3 separate regions of the Homo sapiens genome follow, and all the other regions are linked to region 3. The links are contacts of gene promoters, found by promoter capture Hi-C in blood cells and fetal thymus (Javierre and others, 2016). All regions are on one chromosome and are shown on one strand. The core of a region is centred on a gene start or on the middle of the fragment in contact, and the rest is flanking DNA. Distances in the headings are between cores, read along the strand shown.

Region 1 (3,430 bases), core at 174-2,673, 120 kb before region 3:
GCATAGCCTATCATAATCCTGACCAACACAGGGATATAAAAGGCCCTTCAGGATCTGGCCTTGCTTCTCTCTCTAACATTATTTCTCTTTTCTTCCTTCCCTTATACTCTATATTCCAGTTATAATGGCATGCCAGGCTCTTCCTCACTTCCAGGCCTTTGTAGATGCAGTTCTTGTTGCTTAGGATGTCTTTTTGTCACCCACATCCACTTTACCACTTTGTCTGGTGAATCTCAACTCAACTTTCAAGCCTCAGTGTAGATGCCTCTTCCTCTGAGAAGCCCTCCAGGATGCCCTACTGCCTCCTGGTTGAGGCGCCCTTCCTTTGGGTCCCCTTAGAATACTGTGCCGGCCCTTCACTTACCACTCTGTCTTGAAATGGACTTTTTTCTTGTTTCTCCACCAAACTGAACTGGAAGCTCCTTGAGCTTTCACCACTTTGCCACGTTCACTGTGATCTTCCCAGGCCTTGTCAGAGTAGGTGCTCAGCCCATTTTTGTGGAATTACTTATTGTTGGAAGATCCAGGCGAAATCTTAGGGGAGAAGCTATCATGAAAAGCTGCAATTCACATTTCTTTTGCCAAGACTTTCTTGGTAGTTTAAATTCCTGAGAGACAATATTGATTAGTGATTTGGAGGAAACAGTCTATAGTCAGCCACAGCTGGTTTCACTTCTGGTTGTACTAGATGTGTAATGTTTAGCAAGTTACTTACCCTCTTAAACCTCAGTTTCAGGATCTGATGGGAATAATGCTTACCTCATAGGATTGTTGTGATGATTCAATTAGTTGAGATGTGTGTGTTTGTGTGTGTATGTGTATGTGTTTGTGTGTATGTATATGCACTTAGAACAATGCCTAGCATATAGAAGTGCCCAATAAAGTTAGACGTGTTATTATATTAAAAATATCCTAAATGCAAACGTGGTATCCTAGATTGGGTCTTGGAACAGAGAAAAGGGCATTGTGGAAAAAAAAACTAATGAAATACCAATAAAGTGTGGAGTTTAGTTAATAATAGTGTTCCAATATAAATTTTTCAGCTTTGATAAATGTACCACTGTAATGTGAGATAACGTTAGGGGGAACTGGGTGAGAGGTATGTGGGAACTCTGTGCTACCTCTGTAGCTTAGTCCAAAGTTATTCCATAATAAAAAGTGTATTAAAATAAATTCTTATTATAATTGATATTCATTGTATTCTCAAAATATCCCTATATAAGCACTGCAGTGATTGCCACTTACAGATGAAGAAACTGAGACACACAAAAGTTAAATAACTTGCCCATGGTCACTCTTAGTTCAGGATAACAAAGTAGGAATGATTGGTGGGTTGGGATTTAAATAGAATGCAGTAATAAACACTTATTTTGTGGAAGTTATCACTCTATATGCTGTGTCAATAGAGAACACTGAAGGCAAATGGTCTCTGCTCTCAAGGTCATTATAAGTAGGAAGCCCAAGTTCACACAGTGCTAAGTGCAGAACTGGGGATAGAGATCCAGCTCCTGAGTCTGGACCCATGCTCTTAAGCATTGCACCAAACAAACTGGAGGGCAAGTGGTGATTAGAGTCACATGCAATTCACAGTGGAAGTGCAGATGTAAAAACGGGTCTGGTTGGGGGTTTAGAGACAGCTAGTTTCATGGGTGGGGGTTTGATCTGAGTCTTGAACATGAGTATAATTTGATCTGAGTAGAGCAAAAAGGAAAACCTGGAATGGGTCTTGGGGCCTGGGTTGAGCCAACCCTCTCTTCACTCCCTTTGCCACATGTCCCTGAGCGCAGGACATGCTTGTGTACACTTGGCTATTCTGTTTAGTGCTCAGTGATAAACAGTAGCTTGTAGTGAGAGGGCATGGACTTTGGCATGGGTCCAGCAGTTGCTCTGCTCTTACCAACTATGTGATCTTGAGCTGGTGACTTCATCTCTCCATGCCTCAGGAAAACGATGGTGACAATGACCACCTGACCTTGTTGTCACGCACATTAGCCCAGGGGGAAATGTGCATAAAGCTGGGCACAATGCTGGGTACTTGGGATGGACCCGCTGGGTGGTGGCCACCTTTGTGTGGCCAGGCTTACATGATGAACCCTTGGTTGTGCTGCTAAATATTTATATTTCATGTAAAGGAAAGAACATGGACTTTGGGAGGCTGTGTTACTTACCAGTTGGGTGACCTCAATCAGTTGTTTAACTTGTTCAGGCCTCAAATTTTCACGGTAAAATAATATCAATATTATAGGATGGCTGTGATAACTACAAGATGGAGTGTGAAGATGGTACATGGATGGACACATTCCATTAATGTTAGTTCTTATCATTGTCTTATACTTTTCTCCATTTGATTAATATTAATCTTCACTTCCACTTAAATTGTTTGCTCTTTAGGGAAGATCTTAAATCTTGTATTCCTTGTATCCATCCCTCCAGCACTTAGTTTGGGGACATAATATGTACTTATTAAACATGAGATGGCTTACTTTTGGGGTAGACTTTCTCGGTATTTAGGTGCATCCAACAACGTTTCTAGATTTTGTTCTACCCCATCCTGCTGAGCTCAAGGAATCATCCTCGGGCTGGTGCAGTGGGAAGGGACCAACCTGTGAAATGGCCATCAGAGATTTTATTTATTTTACTAGAAGGTTTCAATCTCTATGACAGCTCCAAGGTGGTGGGATGGGGAGGGCAAGAGAGAAAGCAGGGAGCCTGGGGGAGGCACATAAGATAGTGGTCTCTGGCAACTAAATAAGCTGAGGGAACTCCTGGACCGAGCTCGTCTGGGTTTGAAAAATCCGCCGGCTGACTTCCACCCTAGTCCCGGCCTCGTCCTCATCTTCTTCACTCGACTTGTGGCGGGTGTTCTGGTAGAGCACAGCACACACACCTGTGAGCCAGGCAGCCACAGTTCCCGCGGCGAAGATGCAGAAGCCGATGAGCAGCAGGAAGATGTAGTCTTTGTGGTCCAGGTGCGTGATGCACATGTATCGGAGTGGGTTCCCCACCCGGGTGATGGGCCACCCTGTCAGCTCTGTGGGCTCCACACATGTGGCATTTAGATCATCTAAGAAGAAAAACACAGCAGGCAGGGTGCTGAAACAGCGTGACTCCCAGCGTCCTAAGGCCAAAGGGGATCAGGAGGGACCATCTGCACCCTCAGTGCTCCAAGTGTGGTCTGTGGGCCAGCAGCATCGACATCACCTGGACCTTGTTAGAAATGCAGAATCTCAGGACCCACCTGTGACCTCCTGAATCCAAATCTGCATCTCAACAAGACCTTCAGGGTATCTGTTGCACATTGGAGTTTGAGAAGTACTGGGCCTGGACTGTTCCTTGTCCCCAGGCTTTGCTGCATTCAGGCCATGAAAATGCTTCTTAAGGATGCTCAAGGAAGGAGAGGCCACAACAGGGGTGGGGAGGTTGGAAGGTT
Region 2 (3,610 bases), core at 252-2,751, 80 kb before region 3:
GGGATCTTACCCTCCTTCAAGGTCCAACACTCGCTGCTTTTGCAAAGCTGCTTTAAAAAGCGTTCATCCTTTTCCAGTAATTTCTCCCTCTCCGAATTCTTTTTATTTTATTATTTATTTATTTAGTTATTTTGAGAGGGAGTCTCGCTCTGTCACCCAGGCTGGAGTGCAGTGCGCGATCTCGGCTCACTGCAAGCTCCGCCTCCCGGGTTCACGCCATTCTCCCGCCTCAGCCTCCCAAGTAGCTGGGACTACAGGCGCCCGCCCCCAGGCCCTGCTAATTTTTGTATTTTTAGTAGAGACGGGGTTTCACCATGTTGGCCAGGATGGTCTCGATCTCCTGACCTCGTGATCCACCCTCCTCGGCCTCCCAAAGTGCTGGGATTACAGGCGTGAGCCACTGCGCCCGGCCTGAATTCTTTAACTAGCTATGATTGTCTATGTGACTCAAATAACACTTATATACTGTGATGTAAAGTTAGTGTTTTACACACATATGTTTAAATCTCTAACGAGATAATGTATTTCTTATGATCTGAAACCTAGTTTTATATCCTTCTTACTGCTCCCTTCCCACTGTGGTGGTTAGTACAAATCTGGCCCCATGTCAGGTGCTCAAAGATTACTTGATACGTTATTTGACGATTTCAGAAGATTCCATGAAGCTCATCACCAGGTAAATCATGACATCTTATTCTTTTTGTGATGCTAACAAGGTAGGAACAAAGGCTGTGTCCTAATTAAGCTTAGCACATTGACAGCACTCTCAAGGGAAACAAAATAGTTGTTGTGAGGGTGGATAAGTAACTGGTCAGTGTTTCTCCTCTCGTATTCTACTGGCAAAACTGGCTCCATGGATGCAAAGTCCATTGAGGCATGGCCTGTTCTGTTTGCACAAGCTGAGTGTGGGAGACAATAGGGCACTGATGATTACAAGACAGTGTGGTAAATATTATAATAGAGTTGTGTATAAGAAGCTATGGGAGTCCAGAGAAAGGGCCTGGAAATGAGGCTGGGTTAGGTTGTCAGGGAAGGCTTCCTGCAAGAGGTAGTGCTTGACTTGAATTTAGACTTAGAAGAAAGGAAGGAAAAGATTTTTTTCCGTCACAGCCCTAGTTAGGAAAGAGTGTTTGGGGAAATTTAGAAGGGAAACTTTTCTAAGATAAAGTTATTTTATGAAGAAGCAGCACTGGGAAATTAAGGAGATTTAATTACAACTGCCTCACGAGCAGGATTTGAAAAGGAGTGGGAGGCTCATGGAAACCTTAATTGCTGAGAAAAGTTAAGAGGAGAAATATGACAGAAGTAATGGGTCTATATGTATGTCATGTCTGATTTGTCACTTTTCTAGACAGGCACTCTGCCTCCTGCCTTATTCTAGGTTAGAGAAAAAAGGATCCTTCAGCAGCTAAGGTGAAGATACCATCCAGGATGCAGAAATGGGACCTGGAAAGACTCCGTATTCCTTTTAGGGAAGAAAAGGTCCATCTCGAATTACCTCATTGTTCAGAGAATAATAAGTATTTGTTCAGCAATAACAATGTGTGAGATGCCTGAAAGAGAAATCAGGCTAAATAATTTCCTCATTCCTTTGGAAAATACAAAACAGCTTGCCTGGTTTCTCTTCCAATTTATTCTTGTGGCTTTTTATTCCTTTGGAGATCTGGGAGGATGCTTATTTTATGAAACTTGTAGACTAGCCCTTCTGTATTCAGGGAGGATGTCCTTGTGTGCATTAAGCTGGGTCTTTAAGATTAATGTAATACATGGGAAAATGTGATAAATGATGCAGCATTAGCAGCTTTTAGCTTGTCAAAGTGGCCGCATGTTGAAAGCATCTGGAAAAATTGCAAATTGCAGCATGATCAGAGCATAACTGACAGATGTCAACACAGAGAAGTGGCCAAATGAGCGGGATGGAACCAGACCCAGCTTCCTGGGTTGTGTGCACAGGGATTGCTAGAGAGACGGCAGGATTTAAAGATGATGTCTTTTGTAACTGTTAGAGCATAGAAGTGCTAGAAGGAACAAGTCTGTTGGTACAGACAAAAGAGAATCTATGTTACTGAGAAGAGAATAGTTTTCATACACAAGTAGAATGATAAGACTGGATCTTCTCTAATGTCCTGTCCAACACGAACTGGGATCCCATGACTCTCTGAAACAGGATTTAATGAGATTTTGTATAGGCTCTAATATCTCATAGACCAAGGGAGCCCTTGGATACATATATATTTTTCTGCCATCCTTAAGCTTTAATAGTTTACATTTGTGTAATACTTTACAGTTTGTGGGAGCCTAATCTCCCAGACTATTGGTTATCTGTTGTCAAAATAATGCTGTGTAACAAACAACTATGAAATCACAGGGGCATACAACAATATGGGTTTATTGCTCGTAAGTCTAGAGGTTTGCTACATGACTCTGCTGATTTTGGCTAGGCTTATTCACATACTTGGGGGTTTGGGGCTGTCAATTGATCTGAGCTATCAGATGACCTGGGGGACTCAGCTCTGATCCATGTGCCTTTTATCTTTCATGAAGCTAACCTAGGCATGTTCTCATGGTAATGAAAGAAAAGATAGAAGAGGCACAAGAAAGCAAGCAAACATTGCAAGGTCTCATATAATGGCCAAAGCAAGTCACATGAATTCCGTGCCAAGGTGTGGGGAAATGTACTCCATTCCTTTTGATAGAGAAATTTCACCTGGCAAAGGGTGTAGATACAGGGAAGAGAAAATAATTAGTACAATTATAGCAATTTACCATACAGATATTGCCTTGTTTAATCTTCATGGTATAATCCTTTACCCATGAAAATTGGTATTAATATTATTCCCTCTTTCGCAGATTAAAAAAAAAAGGAAACCAAAGTAATAAGAAATTGCTGGGTGTGGTGGCTTGCACCTGTGATCCCAGCTATTTGGGTGGCTGAGGTGGAGGGAACTGCCTTAGCCCAGGACAACATAGTGAGACCTCCATCTCTAAAAAAATAAAAGCAAATTAGCTGGGCATGGTGATGCATGGCTGTAGTCTCAGCTACTTGGGAGGCTGAGGTGGGAGTATCACTTGAGTCCAGGAGTTCAAGGCTGCAGTGAGCTATGATCACACCACTGTGCTCCAGCCTGAGTGACAGAGTGAGATTTCATGTCTAAAAAAATAAAAAAGATTTTCTTCTAAGGCCACATGGCTGGTCAGTAACATTTCAGAAAGAATAATGCTAGTCTCCCTATTGCAAATGTAAGGAAATTTCCATTGTACCATACCATGCTTAATTAAGATGATAAATCCCAAGGATTTTGTCAGAAACTTCCTAAAGGTAGACTGGTAAAATAAAGTGTGTGGCCCTTGATTTTGTGTGAGTTGGAGAATACACAAACTTTTACTTAGGTTTTCTTAATCTATTTATGAATTTCTTAGTGCCCCTATAAGATATAACATTTTCACGTAATAATATATTAATCCAAGGAATTCACTAGCCATGTGAAATTTACTTTACTTGTTAATTAGGTAGTTACTAGGTCTATTTGTAAGAGTAGGTGAGCTGCTGTAACTATGTACTCCTAAATCTTAGTGATATAGAGTAATAAAAGTTTATTTCTTATTCATA
Region 3 (3,423 bases), core at 874-3,373:
GCTTGTGAGTTGGTGAGTTGGTGCTTTTACTATACATATAGCCTTTCAAGGCCATATAACTAGTGAGTAGCAGAGCAAAGTGTCTAAGGCACTAATGAATGGACTTTTTAGTGATATAAGATGTTGTCTTTGCTATGTCTATGTCAACATTTTTATCAATGAGTCGAATAAGATATGAAAAAGCAGTTCATCAGATTTTCAGAAGTCATGAAATAAGGGTATGAATAAGAAATATTTTGGACAACAGAAGCAGGATCCTAAAAGATTTGGGATGATGAATGAAGCCAAAAAGTTTTAACTTCAGAGGAATATAGGAAGCATTTCATGTAGGTCCCAAAACCAATTGCCCAAGGATGGGATGAAGAATATGCATAAGAGAACACAACTTAGGGGAGGTAGGGGTGGGGAGATTTTTATCGAGTTAGTTCTACATGAATTAACATGCAGAGCTGCCCACCTAATGCAAGTGAGCAAATGGTCCTCCTGTATTCTATATTACTTATGTCCACTGGACTCTCATCCCAGCAACAGTCAAGGCAGCTCTGGGCTCTCCAAAGCTCTTTACAGTGAAGGCCTGGATATTTCTTCCTCCTTTGTGACATGCTTTTGCTTTGATTCCCCATTTTGGCCTCCTCCTTTGTCATCATGACTTTGTTCCTGACTCTGGTCTTTTATTCTACGTTTTTGTTTTGGCTTCTCCTAGCATTTGAATCTTGATTTTTTACTCTGGGACCCTGATTTGACTTACCTCTCTGGCTCTCTATGTCTTATGCTGCATCAGGAGAAAATCTCTTATCTTTTTTCCAGCCCAACAGAGCTCAGCCCATGAAACGGACCTTCAATGGGTATGTTGACAGCACCCCATCACCGTGCCAACACATATACCATGAGGAAAAGGTTTGGACCATATCTGGAGTATTGCATCCAAGTCTGGCCAACCCCCTTCCTCACTGTGAGGGTATCTATGTAAACTGAAGTACATTATTAGAAAAAGGATAGGTTGGGAATAGACATGAACCCTTGGTGATACATAGAATTACTGAAAGAGCCAGAGATGCCTAGGGAAAGGGGGATTATGGGCACAGCAGATCAATCTCAGGATTTGCAGAGGATCCCACTGTGAAAGACTTTTTTGTCTTTCAGGCTTCTCTTGTGTGGCCCCTGGGAGCAGTCTAGCACCTGTGGGCAGAAGCTGTAGGGAAAAGGAGCAGATTTTATCTCTATAAGAAACTTTCTTGTGGTGAAAACTATCTAGAAATGGAATGAGAAAGTGGTGAGCTCCCCATTATTGGAGGTGTTCAAGTATAGGCTGAGCGGTGACTTGTCACGAAAACTGTATGACAGACCCAAACATCAACGGGGTGCTTAGATTCTTTGATCTCGGGTCAGTTCCACACAAGACAGGCTCTGTGTTAGTGAGGACCCAGTGGTGTTTTTGAACAGGCGGCAGGATAACAATGGTATATAAAATAAATGCAGAGAAAGACCTCCACATCAAGCCAACCCCTCCTCCCTACCTGTAAGTTTTCCACCTGAGTGAGCTCTGGCTCCAGCTGCACTTGTCAAACTCCCATTGTTAGAGCACAGATAAATGCTTCCGGCCACCCAAGCAGGAGAGGCCCACCTCAACTTAAGGGCTACTCTATTTTAGTTTTCCGTAGCTGGAGATTGAGTATCACGCTTTTCTAATCTTGTGCTTCTGAAAGGGCCCTGTTCTCTCTTGAACCCCACCCCCTCCTCCTTTCACAGATCAAATACCAAGTACATTGGACAGATAGAAGTTCGAATGAGAAAATGCATTTTAATAAAATCCCATTGATTTTTGTGGATGTAAGTCAAGGAACAGGCACCTAAAGAGTCTTCCATCCCCTGCCGTCTCCCGCCTCTCTCCTGACCTACACCGGGCGGTCATACATCGATTGGCTTCCTAGATAATAGATCGTGCCACCCGGTAGGGACCTCTGGGGACGCGCCGGGAGCTGGAAGAGTCGCACGCAGCAGCCCAACCCTGAGTTAATCAAACTAGCAACAGGATCTCAAGCAGCAGCGACGGCGGTGGCAAGAGTAGCGGTGACGGCGGCGGCGGCGGCGGCGGCAGCATTATGCGTGATTACTGACAGGCACCAGCTGCTGCCGCCACAGCCGTCTCAAACGCACTATGTGGACTCTCCGATCTAGAGGCAGATTCCTGACTAATCCCAGAGGGCTGGCCCAGCCTGTGCTCCCCGGGCTGCTAGGAAGCGATGACCACTCTTGTTAGCCCAAGTTGAAGAAAGCCGGGCTGTGCCTGGGAGCCGAGAGAGGCGGTAATATTTAGAAGCTGCACAGGAGAGGAACATGAACTGACGAGTAAACATGTATGGAAATTATTCTCACTTCATGAAGTTTCCCGCAGGCTATGGAGGTAAGTATCTCCCTTGGGCTTCACTGCGTGGACCTGTATGAGAGACTGAGAAGAAATTGGGAAATACGAATGACTGGATTAGTATTGAATTAAAAGGAGAACATATATGTTTATATGCATATATAGTGTGTATATAGCGTTTCAGCGTGTGTGTGCACGCGTGCATGAGAGAGGAGAGGAGGAAAGAATGGTCTGTAGGTGAGGATACGTTTGCATATCAGAATGAGGATACGGGGATATTCTAAGGAGAGAGTAAACCAACATGCTTGAGAATGTGTCTGAGACAAAGATAGAATAAGAGCATTGTTATAACCCAGTGTGTTTGTGCGGGTGTGAAAAGTGGAAGAGTTAACGGGGAATTACTATGATGTTCCTATTAGCCAACTTGTAATGAGAAAAAATGTGATTAAAAAGGTTTTGCCTATCTTGAGGGTTCCTGGGATACTTTGTAACAAGGGCATGATTGTTTTACTCAAAAGCAGATTTCCCTTTAATTGGATTTTTAAAAAGAAAACATAGTGCTTTAATTTGCTACTGTGTTTTCCTTCCCCTGTTTTCTTTCCTTTGATTTGCTAATAGCCTCTTCTCTCCTCCCCTGCTGCTGCCCCCAATTCTACTGCAAGAGTTGCTGCAATCACTTCCACTCTGGGGGTAGAGATCTGGGGATGGGGGGTTGGGGCTCTTAGAGAATTGGCAAACTGAAGATTCAAGTCACCGTGCCAGGCAGGGCAGCCCAGTCACACTTCACAGAAGCTTCCGGAGACTAGGTCCTCAGGCTGCCTTAACGCCCAAGCACATCCGTCCCAAGGATCCCTTGATTTAGTGACAGAAACAGTACAGCCGCCCAGCTCTGAGTAAATGGAAGCAACAGCTGACCAACTGGCCTGTCGCTTGTCAGTTGGAGGCATGCAGCTTATGTTGCTGGGAGCCAAAGAAAGATTCTGGCAGGCAAGACAGCAGAAATTCTTATAAGGTTTTGAAAATTGAAAAGTCCCTGCTCTCCAGACTTCCTCCGTGGA

The links. Contacts are between HindIII fragments. The CHiCAGO score rates a contact against its expected background, and 5 or more counts as called.
Region 1: a contact is called between a fragment that was not itself captured here and the fragment with the promoter of RXRG in region 3, in 5 of 17 cell types (naive CD4 T cells, activated CD4 T cells, non-activated CD4 T cells and 2 more). The highest score is 7.4, in naive CD4 T cells.
Region 2: a contact is called between a fragment that was not itself captured here and the fragment with the promoter of RXRG in region 3, in 1 of 17 cell types (naive CD4 T cells). The highest score is 5.1, in naive CD4 T cells.

Annotation. Positions count from the first base shown.
Region 1 is chr1:165,563,139-165,566,568 of GRCh38, reverse strand. LRRC52 (leucine rich repeat containing 52) reads right to left here. Exons shown (of 2, transcript NM_001005214.4): 2 at 2,612-3,064. The coding sequence ends at 2,745. The region is part of intron 3 of LRRC52-AS1 (LRRC52 antisense RNA 1); the gene reads left to right. Among named protein-coding and RNA genes, the nearest start is that of LRRC52-AS1, 17 kb to the left of the region's middle. The HindIII fragment of the contact is 6,812 bases long and covers 1-3,430 here.
Region 2 is chr1:165,523,096-165,526,705 of GRCh38, reverse strand. All of the region lies in intron 3 of LRRC52-AS1 (LRRC52 antisense RNA 1), which reads left to right. Among named protein-coding and RNA genes, the nearest start is that of LRRC52, 19 kb to the left of the region's middle. The HindIII fragment of the contact is 1,508 bases long and covers 748-2,255 here.
Region 3 is chr1:165,443,826-165,447,248 of GRCh38, reverse strand. RXRG (retinoid X receptor gamma) reads left to right here and starts at 2,123. Exons shown (of 10, transcript NM_006917.5): 1 at 2,123-2,404. The coding sequence starts at 2,356. The HindIII fragment of the contact is 7,493 bases long and covers 1-3,159 here.